Regions from separate parts of the Homo sapiens genome. Here region 1 is linked to region 2. Evidence: promoter capture Hi-C in human tissues and cell types (Jung and others, 2019). All regions are on one chromosome and are shown on one strand. Each heading gives the region's core, a stretch centred on a gene start or on the middle of the fragment in contact. The rest is flanking DNA. Distances are from core to core; before and after follow the strand shown.

The links. Contacts are between HindIII fragments. The study calls those that stand out against the background at their distance.
Region 1: a contact is called between a fragment that was not itself captured here and the fragment with the promoter of ONECUT1 in region 2, in 2 of the 25 tissues and cell types used here (lymphoblastoid cells and mesendoderm cells).

What each region holds. Positions count from the first base shown.
Region 1 is chr15:53,245,259-53,252,316 of GRCh38, forward strand. No RefSeq gene overlaps it. Among named protein-coding and RNA genes, the nearest start is that of LINC02490, 130 kb to the left of the region's middle. The HindIII fragment of the contact is 3,887 bases long and covers 1-3,453 here.
Region 2 is chr15:52,785,781-52,793,169 of GRCh38, forward strand. It overlaps ONECUT1 (one cut homeobox 1), which reads right to left and starts at 4,556. Exons shown (of 2, transcript NM_004498.4): 1 at 3,000-4,556. The coding sequence starts at 4,104. It overlaps LOC105370824 (a long non-coding RNA gene), which reads left to right and starts at 4,650. Exons shown (of 2, transcript XR_001751550.2): 1 at 4,650-6,909. RefSeq lists enhancers at 4,552-4,846, 4,843-5,611, 5,612-6,379 and a silencer at 4,594-4,663. The HindIII fragment of the contact is 12,558 bases long and covers 581-7,389 here.

The sequences.
Region 1 (7,058 bases), core at 260-2,759, 460 kb after region 2:
AGGAGAGTTCTTGTAGCTCTACATCCTTGCCAGCATTTGGTGTTGTCAGTGTTCTGGGTTTTGGCCGTTCTGATAAGTGTGTAGTGGTATTTTGTTGTTTTTAAAATTGGCTCTTAGTGAGATATTAAAAATAAATTTCTGTATTTGTTTAAAAGAGTTATTCACTTTGGTGATTAAGTAAGCTAGAATTAATATAGTTGAGAACTATAATAAAAGAATTTATTGATCTTTACTTATGTTATTAACTCCTTTCATAATCCGAGTTGTGAACTTCTGATTTACGTCAATTTTTAGTTTTCCTTTTCTTCTTAGGTTCCTTCAATGGCTTCCACCTAAGTGTCAATAAAAAAGAAGAAAATGTGCTATTCCAAAATATTTAAAAGCATAAACATATGCTTGTCTTATGATAAATAAAATGAACACTGTTCCCATCCTCATTCAAGAGGGAGTTGGTTTGAAAGGGAGAAATGTACTGATACGGTTTGGCTGTGTCCTGACACAAATCTCATCTTGAATTGTAGCTTCCATAATTCCCTCGTGTTGTGGGAGGGACCCAGTGGGAGATGATTGAATCATGGGGGGTGGATTTCCCCATACTGTTCTCATGGTGGTGAATAAGTCTCACAAGATCTGATGGTTTTATAAGGGGAAACCCCTTTCCCTTGGCTCTCACTCTTCTCTTGTCTGCCACCATGTGAAATGTGCCTTTCACATTCCGCCATGATTGTGAGGCCTCCCCAGCCACATGGAACTGTCAGTCCATTAAGACTCTTTCCTTTGTAAATTGCCTAGTCTAGGGTATGTCTTTATCAGCAGTGTGAAAATGGACTAATACATGTACCTTGTTTCTCTCTGTGTCATTTATTTTAGGAAGGGAGGAAAACATTACCCTCTGAGTTATATATCAAAAGAGGAAACTTAACAGTGTCATCCCCCTTCAATACTAACGCACACCAAACACAGACCTCTCTCTCACACACACACACACACACACACACACACACACACACCACCCTTTGGCATCAGTGGACTAAGGAGATTTGGGTAACAATCTCAGTTATACCACTTGCTATATATTAACATTTAGTAATAAGTTGCAGCCTTCTGGGTTCGTTTTCTCATTGTTACAACTGGGAATAAGCCATCTGCCTCACCAGGTTGTTGTGTGGATTATGTGAAATAATGCACTGGAAACATCTACAGTGGGTCTGAACTCTGGTTGTGCAACCACAAACACTTGTAGAGCTTCAAAATAACAACAACAAGAGCTGATCTGGCTCCCTACAGACTTACTGAATCTCATCATTGTGGGTGGGCTGAAGGCTCAATATTTGACTAAGCTCTGCAGGCGGTTCTGATGCTCAGCCAGAGTGGAGAGTCCTTGGTCTGTAGCACAATGCCTCTCCATCAGGTTTTATCCTTTTTCACTCTCCCTGCAGGGCTCCTCTGACAGGTGCATCTCTTGCCTAGGAGAAAAATATAAAACCAATGCATTCACATAAAAACAATGGGGCACCTGAGATGTTCCACTTTCCTGGAAGGAAAGGAAGGAACCCTATTCTGCTTTTGGGCTCCATGGTTCAGGTAACGTAGACACAAGTCCTGACCTACAGACTCATGCTGCACTTGATGGAGCTCTGAGAGCAGCCTGTTTTCCTCCTGGCTTCTAAGTAGAGTGTTGCTGCCAATCAAACCAAAGCATCTGATTTTCTTGATGGTTTTCAGAAAAAGAGATCCCAAAGCTTCCCTCTATAAACCAACCAATTCTTGGTTTTCCAGCACTTTCCCCTGTGCCAGACTGAGAAACACTTGTCTAAGTTTCTCTGGCTTTTCAAACAGCGAGTCATCCAACCCCCAGTAACTGATAAACTCAAGGGCTTCTTTCATGATCTAAATTCCTTTTTTCTCCCTTCCCCTCTGTCCTTTCTTTTCAGTCACCTCTGATGCAGCCTCTATCAATCAGCTTGTTGGGTTGGCTCTAGCTCTTTTAAGCAGCTCTTAACAAAGCATGGAGGGAAACATCATGACCACAAAAAGTGATGTCATATACGGACACACTGACTTTTTTGTTTTTGTTTTTTTTGGTAACTATAGGGAATGAGGACTTATTTCAAAATTAGAAATGAAGCAAGAGTTCTGTGATTCTTGGCCTCAGTGCCATAAAAGGGTAAAGAATGACTTTTCCAGCAGAGAACTATGTTATCATGAAGGTGAGAGAAGATTAAAAGAAAAATCAACACTACAGTCCTGCCACTCAAGTGTTTGTTGCTGAGGGCATCAAAGATTCCTGCTGCCAATTCTACTTAAGCATTCTCCACAGCTTTGCTCATTCCTCCTCAGAAGCAGACCTTCTCCTCTGCCACTGCTGCCTTTGATACAGGCTTGATTCCTGTCCTTTGCCTGTTGGGGGAGTGAGGAAAAGGGAGGACACCTGTATCTTCCCCAGCAGTGTTCAGAGCACCCCTCACAGAGACCCGACCCCTGGCCTTCTCCCTCTGAAGGAAGGATATAGGGCTTACTTCTGAACACATTTCTGGAAAGGCACATGCAGGGATGTAGATCATCAAACCAGATGGGGACAGGGGAAGAGGATGTGACTTAAGCTGTCCCAGTGGCCTGGATCACAGTGCCTACTGAAGGAACCTGGCCCCAGGAAACAGCTGGGTGAGTGACAATACAGGGGCACCAGGCAGAATGCCCGGTCTGCCCGCGTGGGCTGTGCTAACCCCTGAGACAGACATGGGCTTTCAGAACTGTGAAATACTCCGCCTTTGCCTTCTCAGATGAGACTTACTTCTTTTGTAAAGAGTCAGTTCCCTTTAATATCGGACGGTTCCCAACAACCTCATGACTTCAGCATCATCTCAATTTTACTTAAAATAGATCTAGGCAGGTTTTATTCCTTGCCCAAGTATCCAGAACTAGTAAACAGGGTGAGGGTAGCATTGAAAGCCAACTCTGTCAGACCCCCAAATCAATGTACCTTTCCTTAAAACAAAGTGGAACAGATGTTTTCAATAAAAATCTAAAACTATTAATGTGACTCACCCGTATCTTTAGCCCACATCAGCCTAGAGCTATAATACACAATACAATATATACATTATTACTCTGGCTAAACCTTGACCCAGGATCCATTCAAAGTGCCCCTTCTCCTCTTCCTCTAATTATTTCTAGGCATCCTCAGGAAGTATTTTACTTGCAATCACAAACATCATCTTCTTGGTTCCTATTAGAATCTACATTTTCCTTTTTTTTTTTTTTTTCTTGGGACGGAGTCTCGCTCTGTCGCACAGGCTGGAGTGCAGTGGCGCGATCTTGGCTCACTGCAAGCTCCACCTCCCAGGTTCACACCATTCTCCTGCCTCAGCCTCCGGAGTAGCTGGGACTACAGGCACCCGCCACCACGCCCGGCTAATTTTTTTCTTGTATTTTTAGTTGAGACGGGGTTTCACCGTATTAGCCAGGATGGTCTTGATCTCCCGACCTCGTGATCCACCTGCCTCAGCCTCCCAAAGTGCTGGGATTACAGGTGTGAGCCACCGTGCCCAGCCTACATTTTCCATTCTTACACTGGAGTGGTAACGTCTTTTTCCCAGGCCTTTGGATAACACCTGCCCATTGTGAGGGCGCCACAAATCCATACTGTCCTGGTGCATCCATACCACCATCACTTGATGGAGACAAAATCTTCTTCAGTCCAAACAAGGATAATCCCACTAGATGTCCATGCTGTTGGGCCTTCTCAGGAGGCCAGAGAGCTTGGAGAGGCATCTAATAATTACTAGACAGCGTCTAGTAATCTTCTGCTGATACTGTATGCTGCAAGACAAGCTAGAAAATGACCTATGCTTCCAATAATTGAGGGTGTAAGCAAATATCTCTTTTGGATTATTTTTGCTCCCTTCTTTCTTCTAGCTATCTCTTCCTGGGACTCAGACCCTAGATCATAGATTTAGGGCCAAAGATATATATATATATAAAATATATTTTAAAAGATAACATTTTTTAGAAAACTATGCTTTACAATATTGTCCTAATAAACTAATTTGGGTAGATACTTTAATGGCGTATACCAGGAGACTGCCATAATAATTACAGAAGTTTATGTTTTCCATACTATTACTAGTGTCCTGTGTTTAACTTATATGCATGCGAAGTCAATCTGGTATGTTCAAAAGAAAACACAACCACAGGCTCAGTGAGATGTAGTGGCATATCCGGGAACTAGCAGTCTAGTTCCAGTCTAGGAAATCTGTGTTCTAGGCCTACTTTTGTTACCCACAAGCTAATCGGCATTGGATAGGCCATGGAAGCTCTTTGGTCCTCAGTTTGCTTACCTGTAAAATAGCAGTAATAAGTGTCTACCCTATCTTTCAGGGTTTTATATGGATCAAATGAGAAAAAAGATGTTAAAAATGTTGAACACAAGATTAGGGATATGTCAGATGGGGAACTTTCTGGATCTACCATACCATAGCTATTAGAATTTTCACTCCTGGCCAGGCATGGTGGCTCATGTCTGTAATCCCAGCAGTGTAGGAGACCAAGGTGGGCAGATCACTTGAGGTCAGGAGTTCAAGACCAGCCTTGTGAATATGGTGAAACCCCATATCTACTTAAAAAAATATAAAAATTAGCGTTTGTCATGGTGGCACGCGGCTGTAATCTCAGCTACTCGGGAGGCTGAGGCAGGAGAATCACTTGAGCCTGGGAGGTGGAGGTGGCAGTGAGCTGAGATGGCACCACTGCACTCCAGCCTGGGTGACAGAATGAGACTCTGTCTTAAATTTAAAAAAAAAAAATATATATATATATATATATACACACACACATCTAATTTAAGAAGAGCCAGCTGGGTGCAGTGGCTCACACCTGTAATCTCAACACTTTGGGAGGCCAAGGTAGGTGGATCACCTGAGGTCAGGAGTTCGAGACCAGCCTGGCGAACATGGTGAAACCCTGTCTCTACTAAAAATACAAAAACTAGCTGGGCGTGGTGGTGAGTGCCTGTAATCCCAGCTACTCAAGGGAGGCTGAGGCAGGAGGACTGCTGAAACCTGGGAGGCAGAGGTTGCAGTGAGCTGAGATCGTGCCATTGCACTCCAGACTGGGTGACAACAGCTAGACTCCATCTCAAAAGAAAAAAAAAAAAAAGCCAAAGCTTGAATATGTGAATGCTAGAAGTGACCACAAACCTAATAAGTGACAGGTTAAACTGCAGGGAACAGAATGCAATTTGCTTTCCCTTTAGCCAAAAATTAGGATGTTTGATTCAAACTTCTTGGACTATGGATAATATCAACCTCCCCCTTTCCAAATAATGTGTGACTTATTTTCGTCAATGATTTTCTAATTCTGTGTGTCTTTGTTTTGGCCTGATTTTTAGACTACGTTCTCCTTTTAAAATAATTATCTGGAATGTATTTTTCTGTTTTAAAATGTAAATGAACTCATAATTCTTTCCTTTTAAAAAGAATTTTGAGATGATTCCTTAAGATAATTGAAGGTGCCCTGGCATGACACAACCCTAGGCCTGGAAATGAGTGTGTAAAGCAATGTCTCTGACAATCAACAAGCATCAGTCATGTCTCAAATGAGGACAGACAAAGGGAGAATCAAGTGGAACATAACCATGGAGGCCGGTGTTTAATCCTGTCCGGATCAGTGTGACCATTGGTTTCCACAGGCTGGGCCTGCTGACCCACTGCACTTCTACAGGAACAAATAAAAGGTCCAGCACCACTGCCTTTTAGTGAGAATTTTTTAACGGCTTCTGGGTCTTGAAGGGTTGGAGCAGGATGCCGTGGAAGCCATATTATTCTCTGCTGGCAGGAGAGGCACCCTCTACACAGGACTGTGGCTTAATATGTTATTGTTCAAATTCAGTGTTACTTATTTTCTTTAGTAGCTGCTGAAGTAGCCCTGATACTTCGACACAATTCCCTTGCTTTACCCACCACACCAGGCAGTGTGGGATTCAAATCCTGGCTGAGTGACTTTAGACAAATCCCAAAATCACTGAGTTTCATTTTCTCATCTATAAGAAAGGGTTCATGTGAACCACCTTGCCGTTGTGAATTTAAATGAGATAATCTAAGCAAAGTGTCTTGTCTAGTGCTTGGTTAAGGATAGCCATTTGATGAATGGGAATGACTCTTAGGGGAAGAGCAAGGGTCTAAGAGGCAGGATGTGTGGGGTCTATGTCTAGTTCAACCTCTAAAGAGCTTTGTGAGTTTAGCCAAGTCACTTAGCTGCTCTGGGTTTCAATGTACTCGTCTATCAAATTGTCAACTGGTATTTGATGGTTTTCCTATCTTGGTTGAGATGATGAGGTTGCCTTGTAAATATTAAGAGCTTAATATATATTTGTCAAAGGGTCAAATAGGTGGAGGAAGTATTTTGAAAAGTTAAAACAACTATTCAAATACATATTTCAACACATTTTAAAATAATCAATATGCCTACATCATCAAAAATGTCTAAATTCTAAGGCAATCAAAGAAACACCTGAATTGTACAGATTTTTTTATTTGGAAAATGGTTTCTATTCTAATTATCATGGCATATTAAAAATTATAGGTTTATTGGACAAAACCACACAAAAACTTCATGGAGTTTGTGGATAGCCTTTAGTACATTCCGTTAAGGACACTAAGCTGAATGCCAAGAAGGCTTTTTTTTTTTTTCTCTTAGATCTTTCCTTCTTCCCCTTCCTCCACTCTGAAACAATCATCAATTATCCTTATCCACCGGCACCATCTCATCTAAGTTCATTTTCAAGATGAAGTTTCCTCGTTGGATGGTGGCTGTCCAATCCTCCTTCTGTCCATCACTGACTGCCTCAGAGCTGTCCCCAGATTGACAGTTTGAGAGCGAATCAATAATAATTATCTGGCTGCAGCCATGGCGAGCTGTGTAATTCTGCCACGGGACAGCATTGTGTAAACAGAGCTGCATCGCCAGCTGCAGGTTAAAATATGCAGGCTGAGTTTGTCCATTTAGGTGTGCTGATCATGTGATTACCAGGAGGTAGTGCTTCCTCCCCCACTGCATTA
Region 2 (7,389 bases), core at 3,306-5,805:
TGATTTTTAAAAGGTAGTTAATTTGGTGGGAATTTCCTCCTGTCGCCCTTCTTCCACCAGCCGCTGTTATTTCGTGACCGGAAGGCGCCTCCCCAAACACAGCGCCACGTGCAAGAGGGTTTTGACCCTCTGCAACAGGCTGCCGGCAACTGGAGGACAGAGGGGCGTGGAGAAGCCACCACTCTCCCGCTGCGGAGCGAAGGAACCGAGCTCAGTGAGCCCTGACCTCGCAAGGTGGTTGGAACGAGACTGGGGAGGGTCTCTGAGCGCAACAGCAAGGAAAGCTGCCAGGGGCACCTCCCCATATGGGAGCTGGTAGTGGGGGGCAGGCACTAATGTCCCGTAGGAACGGCCAAGGCGCTCTGCAATCCATTTTAAGGCTCATGCACTTGGCCCGTTAGAGATCATTTGGAAAGTTCAGAAAATAACCCCACTCTTTTTAAAATATGAAAATGTTAATGAGATGGCTCCTTCTTCAGTAACTTAAAAATAGGTTGTGAAGAGACTGTTCCTGGTTCCTTGCAGGAGACCCTCCTGGACCAACACAGAATCCTCAGTCCTAGCCCTTTCCACCATCCCTTTTAAGTTAAGGAAACAAAAATGTAATAGACATGCTTCCTCAGGGTCTCAGGACACAGAGTCGGCTTGGTGTTTGGTGCCAAATGCCTGCCCTGCTGGACTCTCCAGTGTTTCACTTTTTCGAGGAAAAGGCCATGGGCCTAGGGCCGAGGGCTGCATGGACCTCTACAGGTTGCTGGGTGCCCAGGCAGGCGCTCCTTCGATAGCCTCCTGGGTGCCACAAGCACCTGCCAGGCACCATGTTTGCGCCTCCAGCGTGCGGGTCCCAGCACTCAGGCTCCCTCCCCCTCCACAGTGCCGTCCCCTGAGCTCGGCTATGTAGCTCTCCACGCTTGGAGGTCAGAGGGCGCTCCTGCGGCCAGGTTTCCATGGCTCAGAGGTCGTCTCTGAACAGAACGTGTCAGTCTGTCCTTCCAGGGGGCGACAGCAGGCAGTGGGGGGAGGAGGGATATTGAAGTCCAGAGCAAGAGCCTCCAGGGGGCGGGGGTGGGGGATGGGGACCGAGTTTTCCCGGAGGGGTAGCCTTCTCCATTTCTATCTTCTTCCCACATTCCCCCGCTCCACTCTTTGGCTTCAGCGGGCACTGCCTGGGTAAGAGGCCCTGAAGCCTGGCTCTGGGGTGGTGTGGGTGTGTGAAAAGGCACTACCTTGGGCTCTGGAGAGACGGAGCAGTCAGGACGAGGAGCAGCCCCTTCGCCCACTCCCTCCGGAACCTCAGTTGCTCGCGGGCAGCCCACGGGTGGAGATATGGTGCCGGTAGCACAAGAGCTAGAGAGTGGAAAACCGGGGGCCAGCGATTCGCTGGGGCGCCCAGCGAGCCTCTTCTCCCCTGACTGGTTCCCGGGCGCAGGCTGCAGGAACCTGCATGAGGACTTTGCCTGGGGCGAACGAAGGCAGAGCTGGGCTGGAAAACCTGGCAGGGCAGAGTCTCAGCCAGCGCGGTGCTTTGGGACCGGTGGCCTGCAGCGCCCAAACCCAAAGAACGCTTTGGGTCGCTTCGGGGCACGAATCGCAGGCTGGTCGGCACCTGCCACCCCCAGCTTCTCATTGGCAGGCACGAGTTGGAGGAGGGGGCTTTGGCCTCACGCTTTGATTTTAGACTGTGAAACGGCTCAGTGCCCCCGGCTCAGAGCGGATTGACTGTCTCTCGTTCTCCAGGGACGAATTAATGGAGAACGATCAGTTAATTAACAAACCCTCATTCCGGCTTTTACCTTTTCTCTTCGCCAAGGCTCAGGCCTGGGCGCTGGGCTGAGATGGAGGTGGAGGTGGGGGGTGGGGGAGTGGGGGGGGAGGGGGCATGGACCAGGAGTCAATCAACTTGGCAACCGCCGGCCGGATCTCATCAAACCCAGGCCACCCTCCGCTGTCCTTAGCTCTACCTCCCCTCATGTTCTCTACCCTCAAGGGTCGCCGAATCCTCCTGAAATCCCCGGTGGGGTTCGGGCTGGGCTCAGCTTTCTTCTCTGCCTATCCGCGGTCTCGGGGAGCCAGGCGCGGTGTCTGCGCTGCGCCAAGGAGAGCTTCCAGCTGAACTCAGAAACACCTGGGGCTTGGGGTTTCGGGCAGGAGACCTCTGCTCCTAGACTTGGGGGTCATTTACACACTCTCATCCCCAAACCCCCCTCCCGCACGGGGATTCAGACGAAAATCGCGAAGAGGAATAATAAAACAAAATGCAAAGTCCTCAGGGAGTCGGCAGCGGAGTCGGTCCCAGGACATGGCTATTGCTTTGCAGCTCTCACTGGGACCTTGGGACGGTCAGCCTCCCTCTCCTTTCCACAGCCAATTCCATGCGCAGAGAGCGTCCTAACCCTTACAACTCGTCTGTGCTACACACCCACCGCCCAATGGCTCTGAAACTTTTTGCCCATACTCTTAGATTGAGGTCACCCCAGCCAGCGCCAAAAGAATGAGCGCGGGAGGGGGTCACAGCAGCCAGTTCGGCCAAACATCGACGCTGCTCCGGCACGCTCCAGCCCAGCGCCTGGGATGTGTCAGAGGTACCTGCGAGGAACATTTGCGTGCGATTCCACGCACGCGTTGCATCCCTCTTCCCAAACCCGGATCGCTGAACTGAGAGGTGGCGCAGAGTGTCTCACCAGGTGCGGGGATTTCTCTCCGCCTCAGGCCGTACGAGCTTCCCTCGCTGTCCCTGAGCGCAAATGAGCCTCTTCAGTCGCCGAGGCCCGGCCGCTTAGCTCTCGGAGCCTTCCACAGCCCAACACCCTGAGCCCTGGAGTAGGCAATTTGCTCCCACAGCCCTGTGCTGGCCCTTCCAGGCACAGGGAGTCCCCCTTCTAGGGGTAGGGGCGGGCGGGATGAAGCGCACCCAGCCCTCTCTCCTACCCTTCCTCCTTTGGTCCCTTCGGCTTTCGTGTACCTTATCTCCCGCGCGCCCAGCTCCTTGGCCGGCTCACCTGCTAAGCGGAGCGCGGACATGCGCTGGAACTCCGGCTCCTGCAGCCACTTCCACATCCTCCGGAAGGTCTCCCGGCCGGATTTGAGTTTGCTCCAGGGTTTGGGGTTGCGCAGCAGGTCCGAGAGGGTCCCCTGGGAGCGGCAGAGCACCCTCTGCGCGAAGATGGCCTGTGGGATGCTGTAGCGCTTGAGCTCGGTGGTGATACGCTGCGCCACCTCTTTGGTATTGATCTCTTCCATCTGCCCTGAATTACTTCCATTGCTGACCTGCGCGCCGGTCACCGAAGGGTTGGGCTCCCGGGCTGTGCCCAGGAGTTGCCCGTGGCCCTGGGCGTTCAGGTGGGCGTGGGGATGGTGCGGAGGAAGGCCGTTGATGGGCACCATGCCGGCCGAGGTGGGCGTGAGGTGCTGCTCCCCGTGGCGGCCGAGCATGGCCGGGTGGTGGGCTTCGAAGCCGTTGGGGGTGAGCATCTTGTCGGTGGGCATGGCGGCCCCCGGGTGGGCATAGTGGGGGAGCCCTTGCTGGGAGTTGTGGATGCTGCCCAGACCGGAGCTGGAGAGGGGCGAGAGGCTCTGGCCCATGCCGGCCACGTCCTTGTGGTAGGGGGTATAGAGGTTATTCATGGAGGCCAGCCCGCGCTCATCCCGCATGAGCGTGAAGCTACCGCTCACGTTGCCCGCCAGGCGCTGGTGGTGGTGCGGGTGGTGGTGGTGATGGTGGTGGTGGTGATGGTGGGGGAACTTGTCCGAGACTGTGGAGATGGGAGGCAGCGGCTGCAGAGGGGTCAAGGTGGTGTAGGTGGTGGGCATGCTCATACCTGGGGGAGTCTCGCAGGCCATGGTCATGGTGGGATGCAGGGGGCCGGCCAGGCTGTGCTCAGGGGCCCGGTGGTGGTGGTGGTAATCTCCGCCGCCGCTGCCGCCGTCCAGCAGGGACGCCATGCCCATGGAGCGCGGGTGCGCGGGGGGCAGGTGGCTGCCGCGGTGCGCCACGGAGCTGCGCGCGTGGGGGCTGCCGCCCAGCAGGTCGGCAGGGGCGGGCACCGGCTCATGGCTCACCCCGTGCAGCTCGCCGATCGCTTCCATGGTCAGCTGCGCGTTCATCGTGATCCGGGCGAGCAGGCGGCGGACACAACATCGATGTGGCCAGGCAGAGGCGGCGAGGGGCGCACGGAGTCCGGTCTTCACATCGGCTGCTGGCGACTGTTGCCTTCCTTCCTCTCACTGTGGGGCTCTGTCTCTCTCTCTCTCTCTCTCCGTGTGTGTGTGTCCGTGTGTGCGTGTGCGTGTGTGTGTGTGTGTGTGTCTCGCCTTCCCTCTTACCCCCCACCTTCCCCTCTGCGTCCTCGGCTTTTTTTTTTTTAATATTAATTTCCAAAGAGGATCCGCGCCGTTGGGAGAGCGCAGTGCCCCAGCCCGCCCGCCTCGGCCACCTCTCGCCCCTCTCTTTCTTAAAATTCTGAGGTCTCCGGCTCCCCTGCCGCGGCCCGCGCGCCTGCCGCGTCTGCTGCCTGCCCGCCCCGCTGGCCAGCTTGAGCCATGGCTCTGTTACTGTTACAGACTCTGTGGCCGCGGTTCGGTAGCCGCCGCCGCCGCCGCCGCAGCGGCCCGCCCTCACGCCCGCCAGGCGCAGCGCGCATGCGCGAGGCCCGCCCCCGCCCCCTAGGTCGCGGCGCGCCAGGCCCTTGGCGTCCCGGTACAAATGAAGGAGGGGGCCCAGCGCCTTCCCTGCGGCGCTGGATGGCCAGGGAGCTGCGGGCACGTGCGAAAGATTGGCGCAGAGCGCGACCTGGGGCCGCCGCTGCAATCCCAGGAGACTCGCGCCTGGCTCGCTCGCCTCCCTTGCTTGAGTGGGCTCTGTCCTCCCAGCCCGGGGACGCTCGTGTCGGGCTTCTAGCGGCTGGAGTGCTGTGCTTGGAGACATCGCCCCTCTCTCTCCAGTTGCTGCTTCCCGGTGCAGCTTGCCCGGGGAGCTGGGGACTGTGTCATCACCCCTTCGGCTCTAGCCCACTAAGCTTTATTTCCCGGGGGGCTGCTGGGAGTGCGCTTTCCCACCCTTGAATTCACGGCCTATTGGGGGATGGGGGTTGGGGTGGGGTGGGGTGCAGATTGCTTAAAGGGCTGGGTCCGTTTGGCGGCCGTTGACCCGGCACCCTTCGTCCTCCCAGATACATACTTGCCCACCCTTTCTCATCCATGCCCTGGGGAGAGGAGTAATCAGTGCCAAGAATCCCAGTTCGGGCCATACCTCACTGTCCCCCGCCGCCTGGCTCCTTCTCCCGCTCAGCTCATAATTAAGGCTGTGCGTCCGCTTCGCCGATGACTCGGCCTGTGGAGGGGGGCGAGGGAGAGCGGAGGGAGTGCCCTGGAGGGTACCCATGTTAACTTCCGGGTGCTGGTGGGGCCGTGGAGGCTCGGGCCGTCCCTGCGGTTACTCCCAAGGCCCTCCTGCTAAAGCACCCGGAGGCGGTTGCTTTCCAGAAGTACTGACGCAGACAGGGTGGACGCCGGCGCGCGGGTCTCCGCTTGGCCCCTAGGGACGCCCTTTTCCCGGCGTCCCCGAGAGACGCCTCCAGATTTGAAAATCAATTCAGCTTCGGGAGTAATTTCGCCCTTCCCACAGTCACGCTCCAATCTGGAATCGAACCTGGTCTTTGGGCCTGGTGGGGACGTGTGCGGAGGCCCCCAGTTTGAGACGTACACCCGGCCGCCACATGCCGCGGCTTTCTTTCATTTACAAAAGAAAGAAAAAAAATCCGCAACAAAAGGCAGAGCCGTGTCCGCTTAGGTGCTTTCATCCCTCAGAGAAAGGACAGATGTGCCCATTGTCCAGCCCGTGGCAGTTATGGCCGGGTCAGCGCCGAGCCTCAGCCCCAGGCAAGCGGTGGTTACAATGAGAATAGCCTCTCAGAGCCGGGGTATCTGGACTCAGATATGGAATAAAGTGTGTGTAGCCTGTGCTGGGCCAGACTCAGACTGTAGGTTTGCTTGCTGGGGCACCGAACTGCAGCCCACCCGTGGTGTTTCCACTGCAAATGCTCCCAAGCCCTTAGAGAGGCCAAGGCTGTGGTAGTGGTGGTAGTTGGGTTTCCAAGGCAAAAGTTTGGGCTGGCCAACCCTTTGGGAAAAGTTCCCACCGGCCCAGGCATGAGTAGGCCTATCTCTTTGCCCAGGTCCCTGCTACCACCAGGGCAACATCCTAATCCAGGTAGGTCAAGTTCAGTGGATACAGTCAACGTGACTTCCTTGAAGGCGGCCATGTCCTGGGACTGGTTAATCTAGCTGGTTTTATCACCAGAGGCACTCCCATCCTGTCCAAACAATGCATATGGAGGCCCTGCAAATAATTCATCTCAATGGATTTCATGTCTACTTTCATAATGAACAGTTAGGAATTTAGGAACCCCCAGAGAAGAAAAGATATTTTAGGGAAAATACACTGATGTAAAGGAACTCAGAAAACACGATTAACTCTTTAAACTTGTATCTATATCTACCTATTCATACACGCATACACACAAGCACAAAACATATATTTCCTGCCTAGTATATTACAGTACCTTGGTGGAAAGCTGCATCTTTGGTTTTTAATTGTTTCCATTCTCATTTCCTACAGCATGAGACCAAACAATGGGTTAAAGTAGCAGGGAGTCTTTCAGCTAAACAGTTGTCCCCCCGCCCCCGCCCCAATATTTTAATCCCGCTGAAGTGATTGATTTGCCCTTATGACAACTATCTTCCCAAAAGGCAGTTTGTTAAAAGAAAGAAAGAAGTAAATACCACCAAGTGCACAAATTGTTCATGGTTTTCTCTTTGTGTAGCTAATTAGGAACTTGATCTTGGAAACCCTCCTTCATGAGAGGCACTCAGCTGAGCCTCTGGAGTCCACCTGAATAAGGCTGGCATCAGGTGAGCTCAACTTCCCCTCTCCCCCAAGGGCATTTATGAAAAGGGGGGCTGGCTCTGTGTTGGTCCCTAAAGAAGGAGCCAACGAAAAGACCTGGAGAAGCACCATATGTGTTGGCTTGCTCAGTAATTTTTGATTTTTTTCTAAAACATTAAAATATTGTATGTGCAGGATTTGCTTTGGTTTGCAAATCTCCCTAATCTTTCTTGGCTATTCACACCATTTATCTAACCATTGTTCTCCCGTAATTGACTGAGTTGCAGTGGTTTCTCAGTCAGAAACAACATATTACTGTGTTCTTATTTGACCTCTCAAAATTTTTCTTCTTACTAAGGAAGTGACGGGTAGGAAGAATGCTCTTCTTAGGCCTAGTTAAGGTGAATTTGCATGTGTGGAGGGAGGACGGGCACTAGAGAGATTGTTAACTGCTGGAAGGCTGGGACTACTTTCTGTCGTTTTGTCCCTCTCCTTCTTTCCCCCTT